Regions from separate parts of the Homo sapiens genome. Here regions 1 and 3 are each linked to region 2. The links are contacts of gene promoters, found by promoter capture Hi-C in blood cells and fetal thymus (Javierre and others, 2016). All regions are on one chromosome and are shown on one strand. The core of a region is centred on a gene start or on the middle of the fragment in contact, and the rest is flanking DNA. Distances in the headings are between cores, read along the strand shown. Region 1 holds the start of ARL5A (ARF like GTPase 5A). Region 2 holds the start of NDUFS1 (NADH:ubiquinone oxidoreductase core subunit S1). Region 3 holds the start of FASTKD1 (FAST kinase domains 1).

The links. The method cuts DNA at HindIII sites, captures the fragments that hold promoters and counts their contacts. A CHiCAGO score of 5 or more calls a contact.
Region 1: a contact is called between a fragment that was not itself captured here and the fragment with the promoter of NDUFS1 in region 2, in 1 of 17 cell types (naive CD8 T cells). The highest score is 10.4, in naive CD8 T cells.
Region 3: a contact is called between the fragment with the promoter of FASTKD1 here and the fragment with the promoter of NDUFS1 in region 2, in 2 of 17 cell types (total CD8 T cells and total CD4 T cells). The highest score is 6.8, in total CD8 T cells.

What each region holds. Positions count from the first base shown.
Region 1 is chr2:151,823,993-151,829,001 of GRCh38, reverse strand. ARL5A (ARF like GTPase 5A) reads left to right here and starts at 581. Exons shown (of 6, transcript NM_012097.4): 1 at 581-871. The coding sequence starts at 826. RefSeq lists an enhancer at 256-305 and silencers at 356-865, 916-965. The HindIII fragment of the contact is 507 bases long and covers 1,498-2,004 here.
Region 2 is chr2:206,156,776-206,161,778 of GRCh38, reverse strand. NDUFS1 (NADH:ubiquinone oxidoreductase core subunit S1) reads left to right here and starts at 2,335. Exons shown (of 19, transcript NM_005006.7): 1 at 2,335-2,438. It overlaps EEF1B2 (eukaryotic translation elongation factor 1 beta 2), which reads right to left and starts at 1,884. Exons shown (of 6, transcript NM_001959.4): 1 at 1,720-1,884; 2 at 1,069-1,191; 3 at 307-433. The coding sequence starts at 1,799. RefSeq lists a silencer at 1,548-1,617 and enhancers at 1,878-2,137, 2,248-2,657. The HindIII fragment of the contact is 3,079 bases long and covers 416-3,494 here.
Region 3 is chr2:169,572,463-169,577,257 of GRCh38, reverse strand. FASTKD1 (FAST kinase domains 1) reads left to right here and starts at 3,393. Exons shown (of 15, transcript NM_024622.6): 1 at 3,393-3,589. RefSeq lists enhancers at 3,182-3,281, 3,184-3,786, 3,642-3,811. The HindIII fragment of the contact is 12,279 bases long and covers 1-4,795 here.

The DNA.
Region 1 (5,009 bases), core at 502-3,001, about 54 Mb after region 2:
CTTGATCAAAATCGTTGTTTTGGGCAATACTGACGTGAGAGTTAAGAGATTGGAGAGAAAAGAGCCCTGAAGTGCAAAAATGGCTTTAAGGTGACTATCTAGGTAAGGCCACTGACTTCAGCTGAGTGTCAGAGGGCAGCAGACTTTTCCCTCAAAGACCCACAGGGGACACAATGTCTTAAAGAGTCATGACGTGGAACTTTAAGTGTAGTGTATGTGAAGGGTTGGGGATGGACATGGGGTACTCAATTATATGTTTACATTATGGCGCAGTGGAGAAGATTCGAGGGAAATATAAATACTCGGGGACGCAACAGCAAGCAGTCGGAAGCCATCTGCCCCAACTTGCGGTCTTCACAGCCTCAGTCCCAGGGTAAAGTCCTGCGCCTTCCGCAGTCTTGGTTATGCAAATAAGCGAGGACAGGGCGGGCGCCCTTTCCTACGCTCCGCCCCTCTGGCCGCGCGCCTGCGCACTCACGTCCCTCCAGGCCCGCCCCTTCACTTCCCCCGCCCGCGTGGTCGTCGCCACCGCAGCCGCCCGAGAGGAGCTGGGGGAGGACGGTGGCCCGCGAGGCTCGTCGCAGACAACGCGGCGGCGATGTCCGCGAGCCAGGCGAGTGCCGCGGCGGCAGCGGCGGGGCCTTGCGCGCGGCAGGGCGGCCTGGGCTTCGGCCTCCCTCCGGTTCCCTGGAAGCGGGCCCGCGACCAGCGCGGGAGCAGCAGCAGAGGCGGAGGCTCCAGCGCGTCTCTCTCCTCCCCCTCAGCCTGAGCCGGGGGAAGCCAGGCGGCCCGGGTGTCTGGAGGGGGGGGGTCCGCTGCCCGAGAATGGGAATTCTCTTCACTAGAATATGGAGACTGTTCAATCACCAGGGTGAGGAGCTCGGTCCGCGGGCGTACGGGTTGGGGAGAGGGTCAGCTCGGGCCGGCTAGGTGGGGGTCTCCGAATACTTCGGAATGTGGGCGGCTCGGTCGGGCGCCAGCTCAGCGCGGGGTGCAGGCTGCGCGGATACGGGCCCGGGACGGTTCGGTCCCGGCTCCCGAGCTTGGGGATGGTTCCTGACTCGCAGCCCTTTGTCTTAGGAGACCTTCCTAAGAAGTCTTTTCCGTAATAGACCCATTGCTCCGATTTCGAATGAGAGTGGTAAAGGTTTCTTGCCCTAGGTCCGACGTCCCTGAGTAGCACGGCCTGGCCTGTCTTTCAGCCCTTTCTTTGCTCACCAGTTGTGTTTGGACACCACATAGAAGTGCTGGGGTCTTCTGGAATGAAGGTTATAGATTGCTGCCCTAACCGCACCACTGAGCGACCGAGGGTTGCAGAATGCGGAAAACGGGAGGAATCGCTCGACTTGTCCATTACACCTCTGGTTTATGAGCCTGCCCTCCACTGCCACCCGTCTTTGTGTGTGTTGGGGGCAGGGGGGGTTCTTCTGCCTCCTGAATAGAGATGGACTTCTCTCCATTTGTTTTACTTATTATATCTGTGTTTAAGGTTAAGCTTAAGGTCATTTTTCTACTCGTGTGGGTTATTAGACACAGTTTTTGTTTGTTTTGCTGGGTTAAAAATGTTAAAGTGTTTCACTGAAAGTTTTAAAAACATACCATATGAAACATTTGTTAACCATAGGTAACTAGCAAGTTACTAAGTGTAAAGTGTGTTATATAGGGATGCTTAAGTTCAGCCAACTTCAGACATGGCCATGAAATACCTATCAGGCTTGTTAAAATTTGTTACAAAATGACTAAAACTGGGGAAAGAGAATACAATTTTAACCCAAAGACTGGATACTTATTAAGATACAGTGGTGTACTTTTGTTTCTTTTTAACTCAAGTTGGGTGGTTCATCATTCCGCTGTCAGGAACTTAGTTTGTGTTTTTCTGTTGTGTAAGCTGATGGTGTCACGTCCCAGTTTTCCAATAAAGACTTACGTGAATGGTGGCATCTATTATGTACACCTACTACTACCACCTCCTCCTTCATGATCTAGCTGCTCTTTTAAGAAGCTTAGGGGAAGCAAGCAGAACTAGAACTTGTGATCCCTAATGTATCTTTTACGCACACACACACACACACAGATGTGTAGGTCACGTGATACCGAAAGAAAGGGCAGTATCAATTTTTCTGATAAGAGGATTTTTCATAAAGTAGAGAAAATCAGTTCTAATCAGCACTGTCTCTGACTGGACTGGCTGTTAGTGTTGGGAGCAGGAGAGTGGGAAGCAGTCACTTGAACTCTCAGGTTTTCTGGTCTAGGTTTTCTCACCTAGAACACCAGGGATCTGTGGAGCTTCCAAATCTTGTAAACTTTATTTCTACATTGCAAATATTAAAACGTACATTGCTGTAAGACTGATGGTACTTATAGTAGATAAGATCTATTCTAGTTTTAACATCCATCATTTTGTATTATTTTTAGCAAAGCTAGTGTTTCATCTGCTGTGAGGTTTAGCAAGACTGTGAATTGAGCTCTAGTGCTGCCAGAAAAAGAGTTATCACCACTTTCTATTTTGAGTCAATGATAAAATTATTTGTTTCTGTAAGTTAAGAATAAATGAGAACTTTGCCAACAGCTCCTTGGAGTAGTAAATAATAAGGGTGTGTGCTCTGGTATCACTACAAATTGCTAATAGTAGTGTTTTTATAACCTGTATTTTGTGGTAATTTTTGACGGGACATTTATGGCAGTTTGGCGGAAATTAATAGAGAAATTAATGAAGTTAAGTTCTAGAAAATTAGATATGAATATTGTGAAAGTGTGAATAAATTATTTATTTTCTGCTAAACAGTGTGGCTGTCTTATCAATAGGGTCACTTTTCCGAATATCCACCATTTAATCTAATGCCAGATATTTGTTGGGTTTTGTTTTTGTTTTTGTTTTTTTGAGATGGAGTCTTGCTCTGTCACCAGGCTGGAGTGCAGTGGTGTGATCTTGGCCCACTGCAACCTGTGCCTCCTGGGTTCAAGCGATTCTCCTGCCTCAGCCTCCCGAGTGGCTGGACTACAGGTGCGTGCCACCACACCCAGCTAATTTTTGTATTTTTTGTAGAGATGGGGTTTCACCACGTTGGCCAGAATGGTCACCATCTCTTGACTTCGTGATCCACCCGCCTTGGGCTCCCAAAGTGCTGGGATTACAGGCCTGAGCCATGGTGCCCAGCAGGGTTGTTTTTTTTTTTTTCTGTATAGGACATATATAAGTTAGATATGTGTTGGATGCTCTTGTTTTACCTTCAGTGGATTCAGAATGCAATCTTACTTTCTTTTCATAGAAACTCTTGGAAAGTATGTTTCGGGAGATTACAGAATTTGCCATCTGATGAAACTTAAACTATGCAGTATCTCCTGTTTCTGAAACCCCTCGAGAACAGCTTTTTCAGTTAAAGCTCAGATTGAGTGCACAGTGAAAGCTATTTGTATACCGCTCGAACTAGAAAAACCAGAGGTCACATTTAGTTGATACTGAGATTCAGTAGAGTACAAACTTTATCCTAGATGCTGTCATTTAAATCATTTTATTTTATTTTATTTTATGTTTTAACAATCTTTTGAAGTAGTTATTTCCCCTGAAAAGGGAAAACTGAGGCTTAAGTGGAATGATTTTTTTTCCCCAGGCCATGCAACTGGTATATGCCAGAGCCAGGCAAGTTAAAACCCTGAAGGAATCTCTTAAAGAAGAGATTGACATCATTTTTCCCTCCCTCCTCCTCCCCCCATTAACTTTTTCAGTTGCTAATCTCTAAGTTGTCTTTAGAACTTCGAAAAGTTGCCATTAGTAACTTTTTTTTATAGAAGAGCTTGTGATCAGTGGTTTACTTGTTCTCAATAAACAAATATTTTAACACCTATTTAGTCCAGGAAGTGTTCTACATGGTGGGATAAGGGAACAAAACAGACAAATTCCACTGCCTTTATGGAGCTTTCATGTAGTGTTGGGAGACAGGAAATTAACTCACTTTGTCTCTACAAGTAAAATAATAGTGGTTAACACTTGTGCAAGGTTCACACAGGTTGTTTGATTTAATATTCACTTAGTTGATTTACTCTTTACAACAACCCTACAAGGTAGATATTATTCCCCTTATTTTACAGGGGTACGGAAACAGGTAACTTGCTTTAAGCACTATAGGTAAAAGTGATAGACCTGGATTTTAACCACGATTACGTAGTGCCGGAGTTATTTCTCCTACGCACACACACCTGGATTTTAACAAGATTATCTAGTGCCAGAGTTAGTTCTACACACACATGCACGCACGCACATTTGCACACAACTTCGTGTAAGAAGGACTTTGTATAAGAAGGACTCAGATAAAAAGAACTGACTGATGTGAACTATAAAAGAAGTTGTGGAATTTCCTCATTAATAGCCTTGTATTGCTCTCTTGGTTGGTTGCTAGAAAAGGAATTATAAGTATGAATGGGTGCAGGAGAAGCTGCCTGTGCTTCAGGAACCTGATGCTGAGGAAGCCACCTCTGTTTCTGGCTTATTATTGTTGTTATTATTATTATTATTATTATTATTAGGGAGTTTAAATGTGTAGAGAAGAGTACATATGGAAGCTGAGTAGCCAAGGGGTAGACTGTGTCTTAGCTTCTAATACAGATGCTCCTCAATTTGTGATAGTTGATAATTTGTGATAGATAGATAATTGAAAATACAGTAAGTAAAAAATGAGTTTAATATGCCAGACTTACTGAAAACCATGGCTTTAGCCTAGCTTGCTTTATACGTGCTCAGAACATTTATGTTAGTTTACAGGTTGGCAAAATCTAACCCAAAGCCTATTTTATAATAAAGGTTGAATATCTCGTGTAATTTATTGAATACTGTACTGAAAGTGAAAAACAGAATCTTTGCATGGGTACTCGAAGTATGGTTTCTACTGAATGTGTGTTGCTTTTACAACATCACAAGTCAGAGACCATTTGTAAACCCTTTTTGCATGCTCTGTGGAAGTGGAGCTAGGTCCTTTAAACGTTTTTCTTTTGCCACTGGGCAAAATGTTAAG
Region 2 (5,003 bases), core at 1,086-3,585:
TTTTTTTTTTGGGACGGAGTCTCGCTCTGTCGCCCAGGCTGGATGCAGTGGCACGATCTTGGCTCACTGCAACCTCCGCTTCCTAGGTTCAAGCAATTCTCTGCCTTAGCCGCCTGAGTAGCTGGGATTACAGATGCCTGCCACATTTTTTTGTATTTTTAGTACAGACAGGGTTTCACCATCTTGGCCAGGCTGGTCTTCAACTCCTGACCTCGTGATCCACCCGCCTCAGCCTCCCAACATGCTGGGATTACAGGCATGAGCCACTGCGCCTGGCCGATATGTTCTTTATAGAAGACGCCATACCTCCTCATCATCAGATCCAAAGAGGTCAATGTCATCATCATCTTTACTATCTGTAGCTCCACTTCCTGTAGTGTCTTCCACATCGGCAGGACCATATTTGCCCAAAGCTTTCTTCACTCCTGGCAGGCTTGAAAAACATTTAAATTCAACCACTATTGAGCTAGTATAACATCCTTTTCCAGAAAATACAAAATAACTTGTTTTAATCACTACTTATCACTAGATCCCTTTTGCAATCATAATTTACCCTTTCACATGCGCCCAGGTAAACACTGTCATATGTTCAACTCCTCACCCGACAAGCATTAGTACCATGTGAGACATTATTTTCAATACTCACTATGATTTACTCTTTCAGTATGAACATTTCTGTTTGAGATTTCATTAAGTATGCTCAGTTCCATTCTTAGTGAACTGGAGTCCACTTCCCCAAACTTCCACCCTTGTTGGCAGTTTCAGAAGAATGGCCAAGGACTGAATGAATGAGCCACCCTCTCACCCCAGAGGTGGGCCCCCCAGGTCAAGGTCGAGGCACATTGGCAGGGCAGTGTGGGGAAAAGTTGAATTGCTGCTGTCCATGTTCTACCTGTTCTGTGAAAAAATGGAGGGCTTCAGTCTCTTGGCCTTCTAAGGTTACAGAAAAATTTAGCTTACAATATCCCAACAAAACTAAAGTAGCCTGGGTCCAGTTTTGTCATGTGAACATCCTGATAAACTTCGAGAGCAGTCTTATTCTTCAGCTCTATACAAAGATGATTTTACCTGGCCTTTTCCTTTTCGTAAGACTTGATGTGATTATACCAACGTAGGGCATGACACAAGTCGGCAGGCGGTGGGCTGGACACGGCTTCAAATACTGCCACATCTGCTTGTGATGGCACATACCTGCCAAGGACACAGAAACATTCACACACACCTTTGAAAAACAAACGCCAGCGAATAAATAATAAATACCGTATGCATCACATTAATTAGTGGGCACTAACCCCAGCAGGGTTGCTTTAATGCTTTTCTTTTCTTATTAGCTCCTTCAAATCAAACCATATGTTTGGGTCACCGCGCTATCCTGAGAAATGTCTGCCACTAAGTAGACCTCAAATACTGCAATGTCTGGCGTTGCTCTATCTACAGCTTAACATGTATTAACTGGGCAGCGATGCGGAAACACCTGGCTGAATTAAGTGTAAATAAAGCACATTTTAACCTTTCCTTGCTCGTGAACCGCTCCCCGGAGGCCGGGCTCGCCCCACACGAGGGCCTTGGGAGACGGCAACGGGGCGCTTTCCCCTCCCTCTCGAAAGGGCCCCGGGCCCGGCCTCCCTCCCTCCCGCGGCAGCCGACACGCTGCGCCACGTGGCCCCGGCCCCGGGCGGAGAAACCTCCCCGCCACCCCGACTCAGCCCGTCCGCTCACCCCTCGATGTAGCTCTTGTCCGCCAGGTAATCGTTGAGCACCTGGAGGCCGGCAGGGCTTTTCAGGTCTCCGAAACCCATGGTGTCGGCTGTATCCGAGAGCTGGGGAGCAGCAGAAAGAGAGCGCGCAAATTGTGGGCGCCCCACGCTGAAGAGAGGAAAAAGGACCCGAAGAGACCGGAAAATTCCTTATATAGAGACGGAGGCGTTTCCCTCCACCGCGCCGGACCGAAGGTTAAAGGTCAAAGTACTTTTGCATTCCCACTTCTCCACGTACGAATTGGGGGCCCTGAATTAAATGGCCCACAAATTGTCCATGGACCTTTCGTTGCGTTTGGAAGTAAATTAATAAAATAGGCATGTCTTAAGTTCGTACCTCCACGGCTCCCGAAGATGACGGGAACCAGCCCTAGAAGCGCCGGAGATGACCGAAGACGCCCGGCCTCGAGGCTGGGGCCACTTCCGGCGGAACTGCGGGTCCAAGTTGTCCTTCCCGCCTCCGGGCTGGGCCGACCTCAGCTCCGCCCTCTGGTCGGCTGACGGAAATTGCCGACAAACTTGTCGAATGCAAGGATTCTAGTCCCTCCGGGCTTTCCGTTCTCCAGGCCCGGCTGACAGAGTTAGCCGAGGCCGCCATATTGAATAAGCGACCCGGCCTCCTAGGGGGTCGTCGTGGTCCAGACAGTTTAGCAGAACAGCCTCCGCGGCTCCGGGGAGAAGGTGAGGTCTTGTATGGATGGGAAGGGTGAGGTGCGTCGGCCAGAGGCTTATTTATTGACGGGACTGTTTCCTTTGGCCCACGCGACGTAGTCTTCTGTTGTCCTTGACTGGGCGCCGCCTCCCGCCCCGCCGCCTCGGAAGCCCCTGAGAGCCGGCAGATGGGGGGCTTTTAGCCACGGTCTCTGGTCTGATGAAGCAGAAAAGAAGATGAGGATCAGGGGGTCCTCGGGAACGCTGTCACGAATGTAGGCTTGCAGGTGACCTTCCCTCTGCAGGGAAAATTCAGGACATTTCCCTCTCAGAGGAGGAGGCCGTTTTATTCCCCGGGAGAGGACCAGTGTCCGATGACTTAGGCCTTAAGACTAAGCCTTTCCCCCCAGATTTTTACACGCCTGATACAGTGCATGATTGTTTGGTCGCTGTTGTGTTAGCAATGGCTCACGCTTCTGTTTGTTGTCCTTGTTTGTTTGGTCCATTGACCACGTTGGACAGCATTTTTTTATTCCTTTAACTAACGGGAAATTGAGAAAAACGACTTTTGAAAAGTTAGCCCAGGATTGCATTGCAAATAACAAAACGTTGTTTACAGGTTATTGGGATCCAGTGCTTGAACTGTAAGGTCTTGGATCAGACACAACTCTGTTCACACACGAATTGACGGTATAGAAGTGTAACGTTAACTGTTTTTGATGAATAAACAAGTTATTTTTGTTTTGCGGAATATTCTTGTTTTCACCGACTTAAGGCTGCCAGAGCACCTGCACTTTTTAAATCCGGGAAAGTGGTCTCTACAAATTAACGACCAGAAATTAGAGATTCAGTTCACTTAACCGTTATTGAACATTTACTACGAGCCAGAAATGAGTCCGTAAAGAAGAATAAAATGGATGATATGCTGGGGGAATCGTAAATGTTAGATAGCCTGGTCAATGAAACTGAGAAAAGGCTTTTAAGCCAAGATTTGAAGGATAAGGAGGGGCCAGGGAAGAGCATTTCAGTCTGAGGTCACAGCCGGTGGCAAGAGGGGAGAGGCTGTGTGGGAATAGTGTGGAAGCTTGGTGACCTGTTAAGCTATTGAAGGCCGGAGGCGGTGGCTCACTCCTGTAATCCCACCACTTTGGGAGGCCGAGGCGGGCGGATCACGAGGCCAGGAGATCGAGACCATCCTGGCTAACACGGTGAAACCCTGTCTCTACTAAAAATACAAAAAATTAGCTGGGCGTGGTGGCGGGCGCCTGTAGTCCAGCTACTTGGGAGGCTGAGGCAGGAGGCTGGCGTGAACCCGGGTGGCGGGGCTTGCAGTGAGCCGAGATCGCTCCGCTGCACTCCAGCCTGGGCGACAGAGCGAGACTCTGTCTCAAAAAAAAAAAAAAAAAAGCTATTGAAATACTCCAGGCAAGGAGTGATGGTGGATTGGGATAGGGTGGTACCTTGGAAGGCAAGAAGTAAATGGATGGATCCATGTTGGAGAACGTGGAATAGCATAGTCCCTATATGGAAAAGTATCCAGTCTAGTTTAAGAAATGATTAGTCATTAACATTTTCCATCCAAAGAGATAATTATTTCTATTGCTACTTGGCATATCAATGTTCAAAGCACATATCGAAGTGTTGCAAATCTGTATTTCTTATGTTGGGCTATGCTTTGTTGCTGGATGTCAACAGTCTAGTTCTAGTTGATTTCCTATCCAAAGTGAGTACTATTTTTATATTGCATTGGAGATAAAAAAGTATTAAAGTTTTAAAATTGTATGAAATACTGATTGTTGATTTCAAATCTGTCAGTGCTCTAATGGAGTAAGTTTAGGTTTATATTTATGCCATCAGTAGTTTTTAATAGGACAGATGCTACTCTAGTTCTAGAACTTGGTGATAAGACTGTTTGGTGGTTATTTTCATAAGGGTCCTGTGCTAGGTCTTCAAAAAAGGGAAATGTCCAAATTCCTTGTCCTCAAGGAGCTTACAGTCTGGTAGGTACTAAAATTGATTACTAACCTACAGTTTAGTAAGTAAAACAAAAATATCTACACAGTGTGTACTGGTACTAAAGAAAAAGAGCTCAAAGAAAGAGTGCTTTAAAATTGGTTGTCTGCCAGGCGCGGTGACTCACGTCTGTAATCCCAACACGTTGGGAGGTCGACGCGGGTGGATCACTGAGGTCAGGAGTTTGAGACCAGCCTGGCCAACATGGCGAAACCCCTTCTCTACTGAAAATACAAAAATTAGCCGGGCGTGATGACAGGTGCCTGTAATCCCAGCTACTTGGGAGGCAAGAGAATTGCTTGAACTTGGGAGGCGGAGGTTGCAGTGAGTCAAGATCACACCATTGCACTACAACCTGGGTGACAGAGTGAGACTCTGTCTCAAAACACACACACATACTGATTGTCAGTGGCCAGTATTGCCTAAGTTGAATTCAGCTTTAACTGGCATTTGTTGAGCCCCTACTAATAGCTCATTGTCTAGGAAGTATTGTTTTCCTCCTGCTCTATAAGTAAAGAACCAGAAACTCATTTACCCAACATTACTCACTAGCAGGAAACAGATTGGATATTTGCAATTTCA
Region 3 (4,795 bases), core at 2,144-4,643, about 37 Mb after region 2:
CAATCAGGCCAGGTGCAGTGGCTCACGCCTGTCATCCAAGTACTTTGAGAGGCCAAGGCTGGGGGATCACTTGAGGTCAGGAGTTTGAGACCAGCTTGACCAACATGGTGAAACACCTTCTCTACTAAAAATACAAAAATTAGCTGGGCATGGTGGTGCATGCCTGTAGTCCCAGCTACTTGGGAGGTTGAGGCAGAAGAATTGCTTGAACCCAGGAGGTGGAGATTGCAGTGTGCTGAGATTGGGCCACTGCCCTCCAGGCTGGGTGACAGACTGAGACTCCATCTCGAAAAAACAAACAAACAACTATTTTAGTTTTGATGGCTTAACCATTCATTCCCTATGTCTTCATGGTTAATTGAAGGTTACTGACAGTAGACAAAAAATGTATTCTCATTTGACTCTAATTTTTCCCATATTCTACTTGAACAAATTTAAAATGTTCTGCTGCCTATACACCCCGACATCTAGGAGTATTAAGACTAGTCAGTCATAAAATAAACCTGATACATCAGATGAATGCCAGCACCTATTCAATTTCGTTTTGCTCTGTTTTCAGAAATGTCAGAATAAATATATATTGGTTACTGGACATTCTAGAAGGAAGTCTTCAAGTTTTAATTTTTTTCCAGTGTGAGCATGCCTCAACATTTTGCATAGACTGTCAGAACTATTGAAAATTTAGGCTGGGCAAGGTGGTTCATGCCTCTAATCCCAAGCACTTTGGGAGGCTGAGGTGGGTGGATTGCTTGGGCCCAGGAGTTCGAGACCACCCTGGGCAACGTGGGGAAACCCTGTCGCTACCAAAACTACAAAAAGTTAGCCAGCTATGGTGGTGTGCACCTGTAGTCCCAGCTACTCGGGAGGTTGAGGCAGGAGAATCGCTTATACCCAAGAGGCGGAGGTTGTAGTGAGCGGAGATTGCACTACTGCACTCCAACCTGGGAGACAGAGTGAGACCCTGTCTCAAAAAAGAAAAGAAAAGAAAATTGTGCTAAAACTGGTTTTATGACAATAACCATGACCACATAAACCAAGAGTCTCCTCTGTAACCCACACAATAAGAAAGTTGCCCCCTCTCCCTCTCCCTCTCCCTCTCCCCACGGTCTCCCTCTCCCTCTCCCTCACGGTCTCCCTCTCCCTCTCTTTCCACGGTCTCCCTCTGATGCCGAGCCGAAGCTGGACTGTGCTGCTGCCATCTCGGCTCACTGCAACCTCCCTGCCTGATTCTCCTGCCTCAGCCTGCCAAGTGCCTGCGCGCTGCCACGCCTGACTGGTTTTCGTATTTTTTTGGTGGAGATGGGGTTTTGCTGTGTTGGCGGGGCTGGTCTCCAGCTCCTAACCGCGAGTGATCCGCCAGCCTTGGCCTCCCGAGGTGCCGGGATTGCAGACGGAGTCTCGTTCACTCAGTGCTCAATGGTGCCCAGGCTGAAGTGCAGTGGCGTGATCTCGGCTCGCTACAACCTCCACCTCCCAGCCGCCTGCCTTGGCCTCCCAAAGTGCCGAGATTGCAGCCTCTGCCCGGCCGCCACCCCGTTTGGGAAGTGAGGAGCGTCTCTGCCTGGCCGCCATCCCATCTAGGAAGTGAGGAGCGTCTCTGCCCAGCCGCCCATCGTCTGAGATGTGGGGAGCGCCTCTGCCCCACCGCCCCGTCTGGGATGTGAGGAGCACCTCTGCCCGGCCGCGACCCCGTCTGGGAAGTGAGGACCGTCTCTGCCCGGCCGCCCCGTCTGAGAAGTGAGGAGACCCTCCGCCCGGCAGCCGCCCCGTCTGAGAAGTGAGGAGCCCCTCCGCCCAGCAGCCGCCCCGTCAGGGAAGTGAGGAGCGTCTCCACCCGGCAGCCACCCTCTCCGGGAGGGAGGTGGGGGTCAGCCCCCGCCAGGCCAGCCGCCCCGCCCGGGAGGGAGGTGGGGGGGTCAGCCCCCCGCCCGGCCAGCCGCCCCGTCCGGGAGGGAGGTGGGGGCGGTCAGCTCCCCGCCCAGCCAGCCGCCCCGCCCGGGAGGGAGGTGGGGGCGGTCAGCCCCCCGCCCGGCCAGCCGACCTGCCCGGGAGGGAGGTGGGGGGGTCAGCCCCCCGCCCGGCCAGCCGCCCCGTCCGGGAGGGAGGTGGGGGGGTCAGCCCCCCGCCCCGCCAGCCGCCCTGTCCGGGAGGTGAGGGGCGCCTCTGCCCGGCCACCCCTACTGGGAAGTGAGGAGCCCCTCTGCCCGGCCACCACCCCGTCTGGGAGGTGTACCCAACAGCTCATTGAGAACGGGCCATGATGACAATGGCGGTTTTATGGAATAGAAAAGGGGGAAAGGTGGGGAAAAGATTGAGAAATCGGAAAGTTGCTGTGTCTGTGTAGAAAGAAGTAGACATGGGAGACTTTTCATTTTGTTCTGTACTAAGAAAAATTCTTATCCTGTTGATCTATGACCTTACCCCCAACCCTGTGCTCTCTGAAACATGTGCTGTGTCCACTCAGGGTTAAATGGATTAAGGGCGGTGCAAGATGTGCTTTGTTAAACAGATGGTTGAAGGCAGCATGCTCCTTAAGAGTCATCACCACTCCCTAATCTCAAGTACTCAGGGACACAAACACTGCAGAAGGCCGCAGGGTCCTCTGCCTAGGAAAACCAGAGACCTTTGTTCACTTGTTTATCTGCTGACCTTCCCTCCACTATTGTCCTACGACCCTGCCAAATCCCCCTCTGCGAGAAACACCCAAGAATGATCAATAAAAAAAATAAATAAATAAAATAAAAAAAAGAAAGTTGCACAGCATATTCCAACAAATATCAGTTTGGTACCTTTAGAGCCTTACTTTGTTGTAGTGATTATCAGCTGAAAATTATGTCTGTTGTAACTTTGGTAAGCATTCCACTTTGGTTATTTATTAGTGGTATTTTTTTTTTAAGTGTCAAGTGTCAAATCTTGGGACTATTAAAATACCATGGTAAGTAAAAAAAAAATATGGTCTGAGAACTGGTACCTATCCACGACATAAGTGCAGAAACTGAGAGTATGAGTTTGCATACTTTCAAAGTTACTCGACAGAGTTATTTCGTATATGCTAAAAAATAATAAGAAAAATCTGTACGTGTCTTTTCCATGTTTACATTTTTAAATTTCATTTTCCTAAGTATATTTTTGTGTATATTATAAAAGTAGTAGACTTCCAAGGACTAGGAGAACAACCTTAGATAGTAGAGAATCACCTAAACGACCTATATCTTCTTCAACAGCTTAAGCTGTGTACTGCGCTAGAGCCTCCCTCAATGAGGAACTACAATGCCCAGAATTCCCCCAAAATGCGTGAGCGACGTCCATTTCACCCACCTCGCCGCGACCCACCCTGGGATATGTAGTGCGTGACTTCCGCAGTGCACGCTGCGCCTGCCGGGCATTTTTTCCTGGTTTGGGGGCAAGGTCTCATGGGAAAGGTCATGTCTCTCGAAGAAAGGTTATAAACCCTGAGATATGAGGGTTGGGCGAGACATCCGAGCCTGTTTCGTTCCGTGTTGGGACCAGGAATAACCCTGACTTCTGAGCTTTCATAACCCCAGGATCCTCCAGAAAATTTGCGGCGCGCTGAGGGAAAACCTTGCTGGCAAGTCGGGACTGTGTGGCAGCGGCTATTTTTCTTTTCCCACCCAGCACGTTTTCGGGCTGGGGACATAGGGTTCAGTTGAGATACGGAGGCTTCCTTCGGGATATTGGGTTCTCTGAAGTGCGGATGGACTAGGGCAGGGCTGAGACCCCATTCATTCACTCATTTGTTTAGCTCTCCTTTATGCCCGGCGCAGAAGATACCCCTTAGGGTCCCAAGGCCCTTCCTGTAGTTAAGTTCCTTCCTTAAGGTCATTCAGCTGGGGCAAAGCTGGGGACTCGACACCTTTCTATGCTAACCATTGAGCTGCCTCCACTTTGAGCAGCTCAGTGGATGAATATAGTATCTTGAGGATACCTTTGATTTGTGCAGGGTTTTCTTGTGCAGGTTTGTGACCCAGGTCAGCTTAGGTCAGGATGCTGTACTGCTTGCCACAAAATAGCCTGTACTGTCGCGTCGTTTTTTCTTGTGAACAGACTGTTTGGCATAGCCGTAGAGAGGGGTCTGAGACATGAATTTAGTGATACAGCGTTGATTTGTTTGTGTAATGAAGCTGTTCAAGTGGAAAGAACTGAGTTGTAGTCCCTGCTTCACTAGTACTAGAAGGATTTTTTAAACCTTTTTGAACCTATTTTGCCTTATCTGTAAAATGGAAATAATATCAACCTGGAAGGTTAGCTGAGAGAATTTAATGAGATAATGTGTTTCAAACGTTCTTTGTAAATGGTAACATGTTGCAGAAATATTAGATTATATGACTTTAGTCCCTGCTTTTCTAACCATTACTTCTCAATTATAAATGTAAACATTTATAGCATATTTTTAAAACAAATTATTCTTTTTTCATAATTATCTTTAGTTCTTTTATTGTTTCAGCATGACTTGAAACATTACTTAATTTCTTAGTATTTCTTGATTGGTGCTTTAATTGTGTCGTTCATTGGTTAAAACCTATCCAAGGCCAGTAATGATTAAATTATATGACTTCTTTTATTTATTTATTTTCTAAAGAAAGGAATTATTTGAGCTCTTTAAGGGCACAAGAAAAAGGGGCAAGAAATTATCCTGAAAGCAAATAAACCTGAGACCATACTTCTGAAAAATTAAAAAAAAAAAGTATATATATATGTATGTATAAATATATATGGCTCTGAATTAATGCCTACACTTTTTAGAAACTTTGAAGGTGATTATTTATTTTAAACA